Regions from separate parts of the Homo sapiens genome. Here region 1 is linked to region 2. The links are contacts of gene promoters, found by promoter capture Hi-C in human tissues and cell types (Jung and others, 2019). All regions are on one chromosome and are shown on one strand. The core of a region is centred on a gene start or on the middle of the fragment in contact, and the rest is flanking DNA. Distances in the headings are between cores, read along the strand shown. Region 1 holds the start of LOC101928081 (a long non-coding RNA gene). Region 2 holds the start of TKTL2 (transketolase like 2).

Region 1 (6,301 bases), core at 1,098-3,597, 370 kb before region 2:
TTTTGAAGCTGTTATCTGTGACCCTTAACTAAAAATGCGTCAGCTATTTAATATTAAACCAATTAATATGAATATCCTATCTCATGCTGTCTCTAAACTTTAGAAGACAGTCTTTTATTATTGCATAAAAATCTGTTGGAAATAATTTCTTAAGATCATAAAGAGTGCATTACATTTTCATTATATTATAAGCAAAATTTCATCCCTACAAAATAGAATGCCTATTTAACTCAAATAAATTTGATATACTTCCTTTTGGTTAAACAAGTATATTGCATTTTATAAGTAAATTATTTGGACTTGTCTGGCTTGTATCTGTCTTAAATCTTTTAGCAGATGTGGAAAACATGTTTATTTTTGCAGTGTTCAATAATTGTCTGCTAGGTTTTGTCACTGAATGCAAGCTCTAATTCAACTTCTGCTGAGAATTAGGCTTAAGTTATGATTGAGAATAAGAAAATTATGAGCAAGTTGCCAATTATATCTTGAAAAATGTTTACTTCTAAACATTTTGTTCTAAGTTGCATATTTCATTTAAACATGTCAATATTCTTTAATATTAGTCTAATCATTTAAAGGATGTTAGTTTTTTTGTGTAAGAAACACACAATTAATCAATGCATTTTCATTAACCACACCTGTGGGAGGCCTCATTTGGATTTGAACCAGGAGACCACTATTGACAGTTATCCCAAACAAAGACATAATATTAACCTAGGAGCCCCAAATATGTGTAGTGAGGAAAACTCACAATGGTTTGCCAGTGTTCTTATTACATTATTTCAAACTAAGGAATTTGATTTTGTAAATTAAAGTATGCCAAACATCCTCAGAATCTAAGTGTTGCACTGACCAATATGGTAATGCACTAGCCCCAAGTGACTATATGCTAAATTTAATTAAAATTAAATGAAATTTAAATTTAATACTTCAGTCCCACTGCTATACTTCAAGAACTTAATCCCAAATAGCTAGCACTTTCATATTAGAAAGTGCCTATATAGTTCCTGTCCATCACAGCAGGGTATTTCATTGGACAACACTAGTCTAGCGTTTCCATTTTCTATAGTAATGAAAACTAAAGTGAAAAAGAACTACTGAAATAATATGAATAGTAAATAGTCATTTTTTTATTTCTGTATTTTTCTCTGCCCACTTGTTTCTTATATTAATACAGAATCATCCAATAAGATTTCAGCCTAAAAATGGAATAATTTATTTTAATTAATAAATAATTCAGAAAAACAATCAAGAGTTAATCTTATGTTTTCTGAGGTATGTTTTCTGAGAATATAGAAAAAAAACCTGAGTGTTAGATGAATATTAACTTATACAGAGAAATCTAAAATAAAGATCTATTTATCAGTGGCAAATTAGGCAAAACTAGTAGACAAAATTCACTTCAATTTATAGTACCACACATTTGAGAGAATCCTCCATTCTTTTCTCATATTTTCAAAGAATGATACATTTCAGGGTTATTTCTCCACGCCTACCTTTCTTAGAAAAAGTGGCTAATTTGAGGCTTTCTTTTTTTTTTTTGAGATGGAGTCTCGCTCTGTCAGCCAGGCTGGAGTGCAGTGGTGCAATCTCGGCTCACTGCAACCTCCGCCTCCTGGGTTCAAGTGATTCTCCTGCCTTAGCCTCCCGAGTAGCTGGGATTACAGGCACCTGCCACCACACCTGGCTAATTTTTGTACTTTTAGTACAGGCGGGGTTTCACCGTGTTGGCCAGGCTGGTCTTAAGCTCTGGACTTCAAGTGATCCGCCCGCCTTGGCCTCCCAAAGGGTTGGGATTACAGGCATGAGCCACTGTGCCTAGCACTTTGAGACTCTTGCTACTTACGTCATTTTGCTAGTAAAGGGGATCATTGGGCCCAAAAGCAAGTCTCTATGTGTACTTGCTGAGAGCAGCCTGTGCTCAGATACAGCAGGCTCCTTCAGCCTGCTCTTTCACTCTGTGTCCAGGTACACTGTGCTCTCGCTGTGCAATTTTCTCTCCAGGACAGAGCTTTCCCTCTTTCTGTTTCAGGTTTAGATCGTCTTGTAGGAATGACTTGACTACAATTCAAACAATATGGACCTCACTTCAGTCCCAGATCTAAGCACAGTCTGTAAAGAAGCTTTTACCTGAGAGTCCTACATTGCTCGACTATTTTAAAAAAATGGTTCCCATAGGACTATTAGTTCTCTATTATTTGTTCCATTAGCCTGAACCTGGGGAGAATAAGATTTTTTTAATAAATGGAAAGCACAATGTACAATAGTGTTTCTTAAGCTTTTTTGGTTATCCCCTCCACCCTGCTTGCCAAGGAGCCTTTTTAGATATTTTTTCCCTAATCCCCCACTATGAAATTATAATACCCCAGATATGCTGTATCTGTAATTACTGTATGTATGTCTGTGCTTAATATTGTACATTAAAAAGATAAGAACTTTCCACCTTCCAATAATGAAGTTTTATCCCCTTGGGGGCGATATTGCCCTCTTTGATAATGTTTGACATACAGGAATTGAAACATCAGAAATAGATACTACTTTCAATATTGCAGAACATTGTCAAGTATATTTCAAACCATTTAGCTTGCTAGAGTGTGGAAATTAAGAAAATTTTTTTTTCTTCCTGCATGCAACATAATTTGCATATATCAACAGCGATGTAAGTAAGGAAATAACTTATTTGGGCTTTCTGAAAAGTCATAGTATCTGAAATCACCTGGCCCTTGACCTTAAAAGATCTTATGTCATTCTACTCCAGCATTTTTCACTGTAATTGCTTATAGGCAGGGAAGGATTGTGGAAGAATGAGAGACAAGGATATGGAGAAAGAACAGAGAAATGGCTGTAGGTACCTAGATCATGGCATATGGTACATCTTTAACTTTCCAATAACCATTAATTCAAGCCCATTAGCCAATAGCTTGCTCATGTTTCTTTTGAAGCCTCCTAAAACAATAGTTGACACCTGGAGAACATCTCTTACTCCCCAACTTCAATTATGAAAAGAAAATAATATTCAAATGTTAAGCACTGAATTCAATAAGAGAAAGCCAGTCACAGATTAAAGAAATAATTGCTAAGATTTACACTAACCTGTTTTTTCACTTAGTCAAAAATGTCCTCCATATTGGTTGATAAATCAAGAAATCTTTACAATTAAAATAAATGGTGCTTCACTGATATTTTCTTCCATTATGCTTTATAAAACTAATAGAATATGGGTTTTCAAAGAGTAACATATTATTCTTAAAATGTATTCAATTAAAGTTAACACAGGCAAAAATACACTCTCTAATGTATTCTATCATGCATTCCCTCATTCAGTGAATACTCTCTGTGGGCCTACTATGTGCCAGGCATTATGCACCAGACGAAAACATATCTTCTTGAGAAGCCAGTGCTAAGTCACTGTTCTTGTTCATATTTGGATCCCTTCCCTTTTCAGGTGAGTTTCTTACAAGAAAAGGGCTTAGTGTCTTTTCCCTTTGTTAAGTTTCTTAATGAAATTAGGCTTAGGAAGACTGAGTTCCCTATTCCGTCCTTTCTCTTCCTAAATCTTTACTGTATGTTGAGAGTAAATATTAAAAACTTTCTGACTGTACTTATCATATTCCAAGGCATTTCAGTGAGGAGCAGAAACAAGCTTTTTATTAAATCATCTCCAGTCATGTAAGGTTTTGGTGCTCTCCTTTTCACCCTTTTTTTTTTTTTTTTCACATGGAAACTTAATCTTGGAGGGGCTAAGTGAATACAACTTCGATTAAATTACTACTTTCACAAACAACTCAAGAATACTTAGTTCTTCTCCCTCTTCATTAGCTTCTATCTTCGTATTTCTTATCAAATATAAAATTTATAGAGAATTTATACCATAAATTCTCTCAAATGATGCACTTAAAATAATTTCATGATTAAAAACTAATATTATCTACCTATGCTAATCTGAAACATTAGCCTACAATTGTTATTTATTCACTTTGGGGAAAGAAGAAAAAAGTTTTGAGTAGTTACACTCCATTTATTAAAAATCCTTTATTTTCTAGTGTCTAAAATATTTCAATGTCTAGGAAGAAAAAAAATCCTCTTGTGAGGTTAATAATGTATTCAAAGCATTTTTCTATTAGTTAGTGAATTTAAAAAGCACATACAGAAAGAACACAAGTGGTAACAGAAAAGTGAGGATGATCTAACCCTACCTCACAGCCTAAAAAAAGAATGCTATGACTTGTTTCTGTGAGGTCCCCAAGTGGCAAGGAGAGAGTGCTCCATGGGGAGCTAACACCTGACATTTTGCACAGAAAGGTGTCTCCTAGAATTACCTCACACTCTGCATAGATATAGAGATTACTGTCATCTTCAGTGAGTTTGAGAGGGGCCTATAAATAGGATCAGGTGAGGTCTGAATAAGCAATGATGTGTGTCTGATCTTCTGATCCAGAATGAAATGAAAACATAATTAGTTAACACGGAATGTGCTTTTAAAATGCAGATATGTAATCCTTATCTTACTTTTGTATGTCTCTCATTTTTACCTTTGTTTACTGCAAATGATATGTGAGGTAGCATCCTGCCCTATTAAGTATGCAGATATGGAGAACATTCAGTAAGATAGCTTTTCATTATTTATTTAGGCAGAACATACAGTACTTGAAATCTGTGGGTTGCCATGAGGTTCCCATGGCAACTCTTCTATGGATAAGAATGCTTGACTAGGCTGGTAGACTTGCTGTTACCATCACCAGCCATACCATCATTTGAGGATACAGTACTCTCCCCTCATCTGTGCTGTCACTTTTCGTGGTTTCAGTTACCTTCAGTCAACCATGGTCTGAAAATAGGTGAGGTAAAATCAGATATTTTGAGAGAGAAAGAATACATTCACATAACTGTTACTACAAAATATTGTTATAATTGTCCTATTGTATTATTAGTTGTTGTTAATCTCTTACTGTGCCTATTTCCTAAATTAATCTTTATCATAGGTATGTAAGTATAGGAAAAATCATGGTATATATAGGGTTCGCTACTATTTGTGATTTCAGGCATCCGCTGGTCTTGGAACATATCCCCCAAGGCTCAGGGGGAGCTACTGTATCATCATCTTAACTTTGAAAGTTAACTTGTAAATGAATTTTGCATATTCTCTTACTGATCTGGAAATCTAAGGTCAAGCAAAAGTGATGTTTATTTGCTTCAATACATTTCCACTGAAAGAGGACAGGAACTAGAGACAGATTTTAAGCTTTCAGTTTTGTTTTTGGTTTTCCTATTTTTGTTTCCATCAAGTTAAATTCTACTATGGATTTTTTTAACTCAAAATTGATGAGCTCTAGCACTTTGTAGCGTAGTTATTTACATATTTAGTCTTAGGAACCTGGAACTGTAATCTCTAGGGATTTATTTATATTTTTTAAAAATGGATTAAGGCCTACATCAAAACTGAGATAGAGCTGCTTGAGTTTTGTTTCTCCCTCTATAATAACTAGAAATTGTATTCCTTTTCACATATTAAACACCGGAAACATTTTAAAAAAGGTAAACCCCAAAAATTGCTTTTTGAAGGTTCCTCAGAAAACTCCTTACTAATTTATATCTCGCAAAAAAACTTTTTTGTAGATTTCTGGACATAACTTCAACTATTGCATAACTACCTTTTGTTTTTTTCAGAAGTGACAAGTGTTGAATATATACTTCTAGATACAAAGCTGAAGGACTGATTTGGTGTTAAAAAAATAGGTGAATATGAGTCAAGTTAGGAAGTAATTGAATACCAGAGGAGAGGGAGGAAGTAGTGGGAAAATGTCTTTGGTAGTTGTCAACCCATTTGAAACATTTAAATTCAGAGTGCTATCCCTAGAAAATTGGAAAGCAGGTTAATTCTTTAACCACCATTATTCCCTCCCCATCTCTGAGCATAAAGTAAAAGTAATATACAATCCTTATTGTTCTTCTATTTTGTTTTGAAACACAAAATAAAATGAAATAGAATGAGCTTGATCAACTGGAAGGATGGAGTTGTCATAAACTGAGGGAGCAGAAATGTCCAGTGGCGCAAGTTTGGGGTGAATTTAGAATTCATTTTGGACGTTAACATACCTATTAGTCATTTAAATAAAGATGTCAGGGAGTTTGTGCATTTCTGAGTCCAAGTGTCTGGAAGAGAAATGTGTACATAAAAAACATAAATGGATCAAGCATGAACTCTGTGACCCTCCTACCTTAAGAGACAGGGAAAAGAGAATCAATTAGAAAAGGGGACTGAGAAAGTAGAGCCACCGCTAGTGTTTTGTTCTAGGTAAAT
Region 2 (5,867 bases), core at 2,064-4,563:
ACAATTAAATGATTTTTGTGTGTGTGAAACGGGGGGTAAACATATTTTACTTATTTGCATTTTCTAAACTTCTGCAATGATTTTATGTCAACTTTTTATTTCTACAAAGTAATTTTTAAATCTTATGAAAAAACAGAGCAATTTTCGTAATCATTTTACAAAAGAGGAAATTAGCTTAGAGAAAACGGGTAGTAGCAGATGAGGAGAGCCTGGTTTCTCTAATTCCCAGGTTAGTATTAATATTTTTTGGCTCTATTATACCTCCTAAGACAATGATTGCTGAGACAAATTGGTTATGCCTCCAAAGAACTTAATGAGGGTAATAAAAGTAAGGAAATAATTACCTGACATAGACACAGAGTAATTTAATTTAGTTTGGAACCTTGGGTCCATCTATGATTTGCCTGACTGGTACTTTCTTGTACTCCAAGCATATATTTACACACTGACAGCCAAAAGTCAGGAGTCTGCTTAAGGGATGGCTTTTTAGTCCATACAATCTTCTCTAGTAACTTATCTCCAGCTTCAACCTTTTTCCAGGTTTGCTTCTGGGGGTCATGACTCTCTCTGTTTCTTATTTAGACACAAGTTCTCCTTATTTAGGATTTCATCAGGAAGAAATCAAATCCCACATACACAGCACAGACTGAAGTATCTGATTTTTAAATGCTTTATTACATTAACTTTAGTATCATTAGCAGATGAATATAATCAGATTAACAAACTGGTTTGGCCACAAGGAAAAGAAAAAACATTTCTGAAGCTTCACAAAACTATGTGTGTAGTGTGCAAACTAGAACCAGTTATACTTTCATCACTTCACAGAACACAAGTAGTGTGGTGCATCAAGAGATGTTCCACTGCTGCACCATCACCTCCAAACTGTAGAGGAGAGATGAAGGCAAACTTTGGAGGAATTTCCAAGGCAACTGCAGTCAAACATTATCTGTAAAACTGCAGGTATAAATGGCATTATACAAAAGCTCAAACATCCTTCAAAACTTGGACTATTGAAGTCTACAATTAAATTTCAATTTTTTTAACTTACAAGGAAATCATACTCATTTAAGATACAGTTACCTCTACTTTAATCCCCAGCTCAGTCAGATATTTGTAGTCTTATCAGAAATATTTGTATTAGGTAGTTGTTTTATTTCCTATTCTATTGCTTACAATTTTAAAATCCACATTAATAACTCAGAGTAACATTTATACATAGATTAACAGAAAGGTAAACTTTAATTTCCAAATTAGGAATGAAGAAAGATGTTAAATGGCTTTGCTTTAAAAGAAACAGTACAACTGTATAGGTATAAATAATGGTTTTGTGACAATAAACATGAATTTAATACAAAGATACCAGTGCTTTTGGGCCAAAGCCAATAGACTTGACTTTTTAGAAATAAGCCTAGTTTACTTCATTAAAGTAAGTGTTACGGCTGCTATAATGTGTCTGGTACTGATTCCAAACATATCCAGCAATTCACTAGTTTTCCCACGTTGAGGCACTCCTGACACTGCCAGTTGATGAACAAGGATATCAGGCTCCCTGGAGACAGCTGCACAAACAGCTTCTCCAATGCCACCTTCCCTGTAGTGATCCTCCACTGTGATAACTCGGCCGCCTGTGGCTTTTGCACTGGAGATGATGGTGGCGGCATCCAGGGGTTTAATGGTAAATGGGTCGATGACACGGACAGAAATACCTTGTTGAGAAAGATGGTCAGCAGCTTCTAAGGCTTCATGGAGAGTAACTCCAGCTCCAATTACTGTGACTTTATCATTGACACCGTGGCGGACCACCTTGGCCTGGCCAATCTCAAAATTTTCTTGTGGGGTATAAATAACTGCAGTTTCTGGTTGGCTGGTTCGAATGAAGCACATTCCCTTGGTATTGGCGGCTAGATAAATAGCATGCTCTGTCGAGATGGCATCACTTGGATAGAAAACAGTACAATTGGGAATGCTTCGGAACATGGCTAGATCCTCCAGGGCCATCTGGGAGACTCCATCTTCTCCAGTGGATACCCCACAGTGGGAACCAATAAGGTTGATATTGGCTTGAGAAATGGCTCCCATTCGGAGCTGATCGAATGCTCTAGTAAAAAAGGCAGCAAAAGCACCAGCAAAAGCAATGGTTCGACCACGTGTAGCACAGCCTAGTGCCACACTTACCATGTTTTGTTCAGCAATAATACACTCTATGAAACGCTCAGGGTGTTCTTTCCTGAATATCTCAGAAAAGGTGGAGTTCATCGTGTCACCACTCAGAACAATAACTCTTTCATTTGCACGGCCCAGTTTAGCCAGAGCCAAACCATATGTTTTCTGAGTAGCTATCTTGTCACCAACTTTGTAAGCAGGTGGGGAGGTCATTTTTATATCTGTGATGCTTATTTGAGGTGAGTCTTCCACAGGCGATTTTGGTATGAGATTCTCATTGGTCTGTATCTGACTCTCAATTAATTTGACAATTGCATCTGCTCTTTCTTTTGGCACTGGCTTTCCATGCCAATTTTCTGCATCCTCAATATTTGGAATACCCCGACCTTTGAAGGTCTTGGCAACTATAGCAGTAGGCTTGTTCTTCACTTGACTTGCTTGCCAAAATGCTTGGCACAAGGCCTCCACATCATGGCCATCCACTAAGTAAGTATTCCATCCAAAGGCTTCACAGCAATTCTGGTAGATGTCTGCGCCATGCTCAAGGGGTGCAGGGCCACTTTGTCCCAAGCGGTTCACGTCGAAGACCGCCACGAGATTGTCCAAGTTGTAGTGGGAGGCAAAAGCAAAAGCCTCCCACACAGAGCCTTCTGAGGATTCGCCATCTCCCATAAGGCAGAACACCCGGTAGCTGGCCTTGTCAAGGTACTTGCCAGTATAAGCCATTCCACATGCAGTACCTAATCCCTGACCTAGGGACCCTGTTGCCACGTCAACAAACGGCAATCGGGGGGTAGGGTGTCTCTCCAAGTCGCTGTGAAGTTTCCTCAGGTTCAGCAAGTCAGATTCACTGATGTCACCCACCTCCACCCAAGCAGCATAGAGGATAGGAGCAGCATGTCCCCTGGAGAGGATGAACCGGTCGTTGTCCGGGTGTTCTGGGTCTGTCTGTTTATACTTCATCGTGTGGAAGAAGAGGACAGACACGACCTCCGCTGCACTGCAGCACGACGTGAGCTGGCCAGAACCAGAGGCACACGTGGCCCTGATGGAATGGATCCGCAGGCGGTTGGCTGTGTCCCGCAGCACCTGCACGGTCTTCACGTCGGGCTTGGCGTCGTTGGCCATCATCTCTCTTTTGTCGGTTTGGCAAAGCAAACGGCGCCGCAGCACCCCCACAACCCACCGCGGCAGTGCTCTCACGTGACCGCCCCGCCCTCGCCTCCCCTCTGCCTGAAGGCCTGAGCTCAGCCACCAGCCGGGGCGCCCACAACGGAGCTTCCCGCGAGACTGAGGAAACGGAAACGTTGGAGTAGCCTGCACCCTCTGATGTGCACCGTTCCCTCTCCCTGTCCACGCCCAGCTGAATGGATTTTTAGTATTTACTTTGTCACGTGCATGTTCAACATTAGGAAGCATAATTAAATTTTTTACCTTTCCCTGTGTTATAAATTCAAGACTAGACATTTTTCTGTGTATTATAGGAAGCGATTTGTCAGGCTGTGCTTTTTTAATGCATTAACACTATATCCGAGTCATCACTCTTTCATATCAGAACATTAATAGAAAGGATACAAAGTCACTTTCAATCTGACCAGTATGGCAATGCTATCTCAACAGAGACTTTCTCAGAGCAACCAAATATCTGAATCTCAGACTTATAGAAAGAAATGCAATGACTAATTTGACCAAAATTTATAGGAAGAACAAATCTGAAACCACCCAATTGCAGAATAGAATTGCAACTCCAGTGTGCCGTAAAGTACTATTTCTGTGTTGAAATAATTAGAAGGCCAGTAGGCTGAGGTAGCTTCAGCTCCATGAGTTCCTACCTAAGGAAAGGAAACCCAAATCAGTGTAAATGATAAAAAGGAAATTTAAGCTTAATCAATCAGAAACTGCCAGCTAACTTCTAACTGGGGACTTTCCACTGGGATGACCCAAATAAGTCTAGTACTCCACTTTAACCAATCAAATATCTTTCCTTTGCTTCCAAATTCACCCTATAAAAGCCTTCTCCTTGGCTCCTTTATCAGGAGCTACCAGATTCATGAATCACTGAATGGTCAAATAAATGCTTTAATATTTTAATGTGCCTCAGTTTATCTTTTAATGACTATTACTACAAATCATTTTTAAGACAAAGTTACTTACTTTAAAAAACTAAATTTGTGGGCCGGGTGCTGTGGCTCACACCTGTAATCCCAGCACTTTGGGAGGCCGAGGCAGGCGGATCACAAGGTCAGGAGTTCGAGACCATCCTGGCTAACACGGTGAAACCCCGTGTCTACTAAAAATACAAAAAAATTAGCTGGGCGTGGTGATGGGCACCTGTAGTCCCAGCTACTCGGGAGGCTGAGGCAGGAGAATGGCGTGAACCTGGGAGGTGGAGCTTGCAGTGAGCCCAGATTGTGCCACTGCACTCCAGCCTGGGAGACAGAGCGAGACTCCGTCTAAAACAAAAAAAACTAAATTTGTGCCATTGAACTCTTCTAGCAGGCCAAGGTTATGGTTTGTCATCAATAAAACAACAATTAAAAAAAACACAATGATAATATATCATACCTTCCCATATTGCGATGTTAAACCTCTTGGTTTCTTGAGCAATAATTCTTACCTTAACTTCACGTTAAAATTAGGGCACATAAGAAACACAATGCCTGGTTCCATCCCAGAAAAATAGAATTTGAATTTCTGGACCTGGAGTCTGGGAAGCTATGTTTCTAAAATACATCCATTGATTATAATGGGTAGTCAAGGTTAATAACATAATCTGGAGATAGTCTGAGACCAGTGGTTCTCAACATTAGTTGTAGTTTAGAATTATCTGGGAAGTTTTAAAAACATCTCATGTCCATGCTGCACTCCAGACCAATTATATCAGAATTTCTAGGCAATAGATCTAGGCGTCAGTAATTTTAAAATCTTCCCCAGGCAATTTCAATGTTCAGTCAGGGTTGTAAACAACTAACTCAGGGGGTGTTGTTACTCTTTATACTTATTATCTCTTGCATTATATCTCAGAAAAATATTTCAAATGTTATTTGCTATTTCAACTAGTTCTATCATTTTAACTTTTAAGGACACATATTAGAATAAATAGTAATAATATGACACTACTGATTTTAAGACTTGTTGCAGGAATGTTGGCATTGGAGAAGTTCTTAAGAGGTCATCATGTATCCATAACTCTCCATGTCCTTTGCAAATTAAAGCTTGTTTATCTTTTTAGACAAATAAAGGAGGAGGAAATACAAGCAGACTAGGCTAGAACTGGTAGTACAGAAGATGGGAATTAGAGAAAAAATAATAATCACAGTAAAATAATAGCAAACTACTACAGGCTGACAGGAAAGTAGTTAATATAAACACAGGTAGCTCACCATTATTTTGGCCAAAAAGAACTCTAATAAATCCACACAATTAGTAAACATGATAGTACAAAAATGATTTATGAGGCAATGTTCCCATGAATAAAAACATGGGACTTCTTAACATTTCTTTCCAAGTTCCCACATTCTTTCACTCATTTAAAACATTGCACAGCTATTTCCTAAAGTATTAAATAAAAAAATTTTAACATTAGCAAAGGTCAATTTTATTAAGAGAAGAATGTAGTCTTGGAGATTTAATACCCTAGATAGTGAGTGTGAATTTCCCTCTATCATTCTGTGAGACCGTGTGAATTTTTTATACTATATAGA

The links. The method cuts DNA at HindIII sites, captures the fragments that hold promoters and counts their contacts. A contact is called where the count stands out against the background at its distance.
Region 1: a contact is called between a fragment that was not itself captured here and the fragment with the promoter of TKTL2 in region 2, in 2 of the 25 tissues and cell types used here (heart left ventricle and lymphoblastoid cells).

The regions. Positions count from the first base shown.
Region 1 is chr4:163,105,463-163,111,763 of GRCh38, forward strand. LOC101928081 (a long non-coding RNA gene) reads left to right here and starts at 4,753. Exons shown (of 3, transcript XR_244745.4): 1 at 4,753-4,838. It also overlaps a transcript of NAF1 not described here. The HindIII fragment of the contact is 4,189 bases long and covers 254-4,442 here.
Region 2 is chr4:163,470,441-163,476,307 of GRCh38, forward strand. TKTL2 (transketolase like 2) reads right to left here and starts at 3,314. Exons shown (of 1, transcript NM_032136.5): 1 at 655-3,314. The coding sequence starts at 3,294. The coding sequence ends at 1,414. The HindIII fragment of the contact is 4,534 bases long and covers 178-4,711 here.